2 separate regions of the Homo sapiens genome follow, and region 2 is linked to region 1. The links are contacts of gene promoters, found by promoter capture Hi-C in human tissues and cell types (Jung and others, 2019). All regions are on one chromosome and are shown on one strand. The core of a region is centred on a gene start or on the middle of the fragment in contact, and the rest is flanking DNA. Distances in the headings are between cores, read along the strand shown. Region 1 has its middle 5.4 kb from the start of CCSAP. Region 2 holds the start of ACTA1 (actin alpha 1, skeletal muscle).

Region 1 (3,736 bases), core at 1,031-3,530:
GGTCTTGAACTCCTGACCTCAGGTGATCCATCTGCCTCGGCCTCTCAAAGTGCTGGGATTACAGCATGAGCCACTGTGCCTGGCCAGATCTTCCTTTCTATTGGCTCCCCAATCTCCATCAGAGGAAGATGCCCCTCCTCGCCCAGGGCTGCCTCCCATCCAGGGCTTCCTCTGCCAAAATTGAGGGCACAGATCCTCCCTCTCCTGCCTATGCCTGGATCTTGCAGCCTGGTTTCTGGAGTCCCCTTGGTTTCTCTTAAATTTCCACCCTTTCCATTTTTTCTGTGAGCCTCTTAGGCCAGGGGTTCTGGTACCATCTATGGCCTGTTAGGTTCTGAGCCGCATTGCAAGAGGTGAGCGGCATGTGAACAATTACCACCTGAGCTCAGCCTCCTGTCAGATCAGCAGCAGGATTAGATTCTCATAGGAGTGCGAACCCTTTTATGAACTGTGCATGCGAGGGATCTAAGTTGCGCACTCCTTATGAGAATCTGTCTAATGCCTGATGATCTAAGGTGGAACAGTTTCATCACTAAACCACGCTGCCTTGCTGCCCCACATCTGTAGAAAAATTGTCTTCCACGAAACTAGTCCTTGGTGCCAACAAGGTTGGGGACCGCTGCCTTAGGTCATTCCTAAAAGTTCCCTCTAGCTTAAGAAACCAGTCCCAAGCCAGTAACATTTGCCACTGTTCTGTCTTTTAATCTTTGCTCATCGGTCCTCATCTCATCTGCAGAACAAATTGACACCCTCGTCCATTGTGGCTGTCCTTCAGTACTGTATGAACAAGGGCTCCTCTGGAGGGAGGCTTACCTCCTCTGTTCTAGAAATACGATCTTATAGGTTATGCTTATGACTATAGTAGATTTTTTAACAGCTAGACCTTACATATGGTCAATTATGTCCCAGAGAGGAGTCCTTCCCACCCCATGAGTGCTGTCCAGTTTGGTCTTTCTCATCAAGTTCTTGTTATTTTAACACAAAGGCAAATGTATAAATGGACACGTATTGCTTCATCTGCTCACTGCTCTTCCCTGTCCCCCTGTGGTTCTCCTGGGGCTGTCAACCCCAGCCTCCCACTCTGTCCCCATCTATAGGGAAAGGGAAGTGACCTGGGCTTGGCCAATCAGATCATCTTATGCCCCTGGCAACAGCTGCGCATGTGATGGAAGAATCTTTGTCTATAATTGGAATACCAAGAAGTTCTCTTTTGCTGGTGGTCTTTGGCTCAGACAATATAAGCTTGAGGCTATTAAGTGGCACTTTCTCCAGCTATAGGGAGGAAGTCCTTTTCCAGTGCGAGAAGAAGAGGCCAGCCTTCAGCAGGAAAGCAGAGCTCAAAGACAAAGAGAAGGAAAGAGAGTCCCAGTGACATTGGTTGAACCCCTGGCTCTAGCTCTGCCTGAGCCCACAAATATCCTTTCTGTTTAAGCTAGTTTGAATTTTTTTTGTCACTTCCAAGCGGATAAGTCCTGACATAATAATATGCTATTAGCTCATGTGGGAGCTGGCTGTTTAAAAGATCTTGGCATCCCTCTTGCTCCCTTTCTTGCCATGTGACATACCTGTTGCCTTTTCCCCTTCTGCTATGGCTGTGAGCTTCCTGGGCTTCCCCACCCAGAAGCAGATGCCAGCACTGTGCTTCTTGTACAGCCTGCAGAACTATGAGCCAAAAAAACCTCCTTTTTTTTTTTTGTAAATAAGTTACCCAATTTCTGGAATTCCTTTATATCAACACAAAATGGACTAGTTTACAGAAGATAAGACATATTAAATATCTTAATTGGAATCAATATCTAAATGTGCTTAGATTCATTTTGAATTGAGGAGGAGTATAAAGAAACCGTAAGAACGGATACAAATTAAAATAAAAGAATTTTTGTTTCCATTATTTCTGTGGTAGCTGCTATTATCTTAAGTCCTCAAGCGAAGGTAAGGTAAAGAATGCTAACATAGCCCTGCCACATCAACAGTTGCCCCCTGCGCCCTTCTGCGAAGTATCAGCCAGCAGTGACGGTCACAGTTGTGCAGTTTGAGGGATGTAATCAGCACCCTTTCCCAATGCAGCACGTGAAATACTCAGCTTTGAAATGTTGTTATTGGACTGAAGAAGTGATTTCAGAAAACTTTTCACAGTGGGCATCTTTGTGTGGAATGAAGACAGGTGACAATGTCAGGAACCCTACTGTCCACGGCCTTGACCCAGCTGCTACGTTCCAGTGAGGATTCAATTCCATGCACATCAGTGAAAGCTTGCTGTATCCCTGGCTATGCTGAGGGCAGGAAATGTAAAAGACGCAGGTCTCAAACTTTAGGTTTATTTATTTATGTATTTATTTATTTATTTTTGAGACGGAGTCTTGCTCCGTCACCCAGGCCAGAGGGCAGTGGCATGATCTCGACTCACTGCAACCTCCGTCTCCCTGGGTCAAGCTATTCTCCTGCCTCAGCCTCCCAAGTAGCTGGGATTACAGGCTCACGCTGACATGCTGGGCTAATTTTTGTATTTTTAATAGAGACGAGGTTTCGCCATGTTGGCCAGGCTGGTCTTGAACTCCTGACCTCAGGCGATCCGCCTTCCTCAGCCTCTCTAAGTGCTGGGATTACAGACATGAGCCACCGTGCTGGGGCCCTTTTAGACTCATTTAAAGCTCAGTGGTTCCCAACTTTTGGGGGTCATATACTCTTTTGAGAATATGATCAAACTTATGGACTTTCTCCCCAGAAAAAATAAATGTACACACAAAACATTTGCCTGCCTGTAACCCTCCCCCATGCTGGCTTATGGATCCCAGGAAAAGAACCTAGGTGCTCTGTTCCACAGACAAACAACATGTAATTAGATGACTAATAGTACTAGCATCCAATGCCTTCTCAATGTCAGGCATTTTACTCATATCAGCTCAATTAATTCTCATAGCAACTCTGTGAGAATTAGAAATAGAATCTATTATGTGCCCATTTTACAGATGATGAAATTGAGGACTAGACCTAATAAAGAATAAAGAACTCGATTAAGATTACACAGCTAGCAGTGGTGGAATTGGAGCTCAGAGATGGCTGACTCTGGAGTTAATAGTCATGTGAGGTTGGCCAAGGGATAATTGGCCAGGTGCTCCGAGGCAAAAAATAGAGAAGGTGGAGACTGTGCAGTCTGCCTCAAGGCAGAGCCAGACTGCCTGAGTTTGAATCTTGGTTTTGCCACTAACTACGTGACTTTGGTCAGGTAACTTCTCTATGCTTCAGTGTCCCTAGGCATGAAACAGAGATAATAACAGTTCCTGTGAAGACCAGATAAAATTGCAGCTTATGAAGTAGTGAGAACTGTGTCTGCATTGAATAAGCAATCAATAAATGGTAGCTCTTTTTATTGTTAAGCAGGATGACCCCAGTGCTTTGAGGATGGCTCCACATACGAAGGAAGAACGACAAAGAACAGATGTATCCAGAAACACAAGCAGAGAACTGGCTTAGGGTCTTCAAACTGCAGGTGAACAGTTGTCACTAGTACTATGTAATTTAGGATAGTGAGGAATGAAGAAAACTTGGGTTCCACAGTAGAATAGTTTGCTGGTGAGTTTCAAGAATGAGGTTTTGCCAGCCACGGTGGCTTGTGCCTATAATCCCACTACTTTACGAGGCCAAGGCGGGAGGACCACTTGAGGCCAGGAGTTCAAGACCAGCCTGGGCAATGTAACAAGACCCTGTCTCTTAAAAAATAAAAGATATTACCCAG
Region 2 (3,563 bases), core at 1-2,500, 85 kb after region 1:
CGTAGGAATCTTTCTGACCCATACCGACCATGACGCCCTGCAGAGCCGAGACACCACGCACCCGTTAACGCCGCTCCGGGTGGCACCAGGCTGGCTTACGCGGGGACCCCGAGCCGGCTCCCTCTGCGGAGGGGCAGCCTGACCTGGTGTCGGGGGCGGCCCACGATGGACGGGAACACGGCCCTAGGGGCGTCATCCCCGGCGAAGCCGGCTTTCACCAGGCCGGAGCCATTGTCGCACACGAGGGCGGTGGTCTCGTCTTCGTCGCACATTGTGTCTAGTTTCTGCAAGGACAGGGAGACCGCGAAGAGGCGCGGTGCATCAGCGCAGAAGTCTCAGCGGCAGGGGGGGGTAAGCCTGGCTGGCCCCGACGTCCTCCCTCCCCAGGAACCTAGGGACATCTCCTGCCGGAGCCACTCAAATTCTGCCAGGGCGGCGACCAGGGGTTCTCTTCTCGACCTTTGCCCCGGCTAAGGGCTGCCCTGAACCAGGAAAAGGGGCACAGGGTCGCGAGACCCCACTGAGAAGTCCTCTGTCCACATAGCCAGGGGAACATGTTCCCCAAGACCTGTCTGCCCTCCCTGCCTGACACCTGTTCCAGGAGCTGGACGCTAGTGCCCATCCTCTCTGCGCCTCCCTGACCACATCTGTCACCTAGGGAGATAAGGCCTCAGCACTGCCTGCTTGCTGGGCCAGCGTGAGGGTGGAAGGAGATGCCCATGGGAAAGGCGTTGGCACCCCATCCAGGGAAGAGTGGCCTGTTAGGAACCCTGTGACATTTCAAACTCAGAAAGGGCCTTTTCGCCTGTTGGAAACCCAGAATGGGTGGTCCTGGCTGCTCGCTCATTCGCTCTAGCGCTAGTTTGGAAGGGAACTGCCTTGGCGACAACTAAAGCAAAACCGTTTATCTCCCTAGGCACATCCTACATGCCAGGTAAAGGAGCCCAAAGGGGCTAGAGAAAAATTTGGAGAAGTCTAATTTCCAGAGGCTGACTGTCTTGCCTCCTTTTTAAAGCGCGTGTGGCTCCGGAGACGAGGCACAGCGCTCAGGGCGCAGGCCTGGGGCTGACCAGGTGAACCGACTGGGTTCTGCCCCGGAGTCCTTCAGGTTCCCCTCGGTAGTGCCCTGTCCCCCTGTCCCCTCCCAACTCCTGCCCTACCTGGGCGGGTAGCTACAACTGCTACTCTCGGCTCGGGCCCTGGTCGCCGCGGAGGGGAAGCGAGGCTTCACTTGGCGCTGTCCGCTGCGGTGGCCGCTTGTCCCTCTGCTCAGGTTTTATATAGCCCGCGGGCATTCCCTCCGCGCCACCCCGCAGGAATGTCGCTGCCCTTCTCGAGCCATATTTGGGTGTTGGGCACTAGAGCCCCCTCCCTCGGCCGGTTCGCGGCCTGGGCCCCCGCCCGGGTCCCCTGCGTTGACCAAAGAAGGAGCGGGTTGGCCCGGTCCCAGGTAACGCGGGCCGGGCCGTATATGGAGTGTCTCCCTAGCGGGTTTGCCCCTCCTGACCCGACCCAGTTGCCCGCCGGAGGGGATGGGGTGGGGCGAGGGTCACCGCGTTCGCCGGTGGGTGCATGTGTGCGCCTGCGCTCCGGGAACCGCACCTGTCCCAAAGGCCTCCCCAACCATGTCCACTCTGAGCGCCCTGGGCGCTCGGGAAGGTGCCTGACTGCTGACTTCCAATATTTCAACTCCTCTTCGGGTTCTTTGCTCAGATCCCCAAACTCCCACTTGCGACTACCGGGAAGAGGGAGTCGTGTGGAGTGGTGGGCTTGGGAGGATTGGAGAAGCAGTCACTCCTGAGTCTCAGGAAGGGAAGGAAGGCGAACTCCCTCTCCTTTACGCCCCTGGAACTCCATTTCTCTCTTCCCACCCCCGAGCTCCCTGAATCCAAAAAGCTGAGCCACGTCGACCCCTTCCCCCACCGCACAGAGGGCCACCGGCGGCCGGAGGGCGCGCAGCTGTCGCAGGATAGACAACTGGCGGGGGGAGGCGAGGGCGGAGCGCCGGGGAGGAGGCGCGGGGGCTCCCGGGGATAGGCCTGTCAGGCGCAAAGCCTGAGCACACGGAGCTGTCCGCCTCAGGGACGCGCAGCGCCCTTGGGTCTCCTAAAGGGATTGAAGGGGTGAGGGTTCCCCTCCTGTAGGACGCACTGGCCCCAGGTTTTGGTGGGCTGAGGCCCTCCCCCAGCCTCTTTGGTGGCACTATGTGTGTCCCTCTCCTGGGGCTGAAAGACAAGGGTCACAACCCAGGACTGGCTAGACCTGGAGTGGAGGTGGAGATGGGTGAGGGGCTCTTCCTAGATGAGGCTTAGCTGGTCCTTCCTCCCAATAAATTGGAGGGGGTGGGGGGACAAGGACGCGGCACTCTAGGATGGGTGGCAGTTTTTCCTTCTGCAAAGGCTGAACAAACTCATCTTTATATTTAGAGGATGATGCCTGCCAAGGCCGGGCTGCCTCCCAGTCCACCTTGTAGTCATCATTTACCAGAGCCTGCTGCAGGTTCTATTTATATCACTGATATATGGGGCTATGCCTTTCAGATTTTCTAGAAGGATTTGGAGCTACTTATGGTAAAGTAGAGTGGGGGTCAGCAGAGGTTACCCAGTTGGTGCCTGTCCCTCTCTCTCTCTCTCTCTCTCTCTCTCTCTCTCTCTCTCTCTCTCTCTCTCCTTTTTCCCTAAGACAAGGACAGTTCTAACCTTGTGGAGGGCACAGGAGGAGCAGTCTTCTGTGATGAACTCAGGGACATGCTTTAAGGGGGTACATCAGTGATGTGGTGTGGGCCAGAACAGAATCACTCATTTTTCGGATGTGCTTAAGTGCTCCTAAAATAGTTGCAATTCACTTTTGGTAGTGGAACCCAGCAACTGGGACAGGTGTGGATTCTCTAAAAGGGGGATGGAAGCATATGCGACCCTCCTCTGTAGCCCACATCATGGCAGTTCATCCCAAAAATAAACAAGTATTAACAAAAATGTTCTAGTGAATAAAATGCTACCTTCCTAAAAATGATCAATTAAAAAATAAGGAGTTTGACTAGTATAGGGACTATGCGGTGAGGATAAAGTCTCCTATGGTTCCATATTTAGTTCTTCCAAGTATTTTGGAGAGTAAGTGAATAATTGACAGAACTGTATTTCCTTTTTAACATCCTGTGTCCTCCTGTGTCAGCGAGTAGTGGAGATACTAGAAAAAAACCACTTAGCAAATGAGCTGCATGTAACGTAAGGGGACTAGCTTACATTTGGGCCTTGAAGGTAGGAAATTTGCTGCCGTTCACTGGATACCTCAATATTTGTGCGCATTCCAAAGGAGAATGGGATTGTCACTATTTTTCAAAACTCTTGCTCAGTTCAACTCTTACCTTTCCTTACAGAAAGCTTTTCTAAGCTCAGTCTGTTACATTCAAACCCACACTAAAAGCTGACCATGATTAAAAACACTCACAAGCGAACAGAGACCTGCTAGTACAGCAAACTGTGGGAGATGGCCCCTGAGGTGGCCAGCCAGGCATCTGTTCCCTGCCCACATGATTTGCGGCTGGTTTAAATAGTCCCTGACAG

The links. The method cuts DNA at HindIII sites, captures the fragments that hold promoters and counts their contacts. A contact is called where the count stands out against the background at its distance.
Region 2: the fragment with the promoter of ACTA1 here is called in contact with a fragment that was not itself captured in region 1 in 2 of the 25 tissues and cell types used here (dorsolateral prefrontal cortex and mesendoderm cells).

Annotation. Positions count from the first base shown.
Region 1 is chr1:229,346,609-229,350,344 of GRCh38, forward strand. No RefSeq gene overlaps it. Among named protein-coding and RNA genes, the nearest start is that of CCSAP, 5.4 kb to the left of the region's middle. The HindIII fragment of the contact is 6,415 bases long and covers 1-3,736 here.
Region 2 is chr1:229,432,844-229,436,406 of GRCh38, forward strand. It overlaps ACTA1 (actin alpha 1, skeletal muscle), which reads right to left and starts at 1,251. Exons shown (of 7, transcript NM_001100.4): 1 at 1,161-1,251; 2 at 144-284; 3 at 1-37. The coding sequence starts at 272. RefSeq lists a silencer at 959-1,253. The HindIII fragment of the contact is 14,149 bases long and covers 1-3,563 here.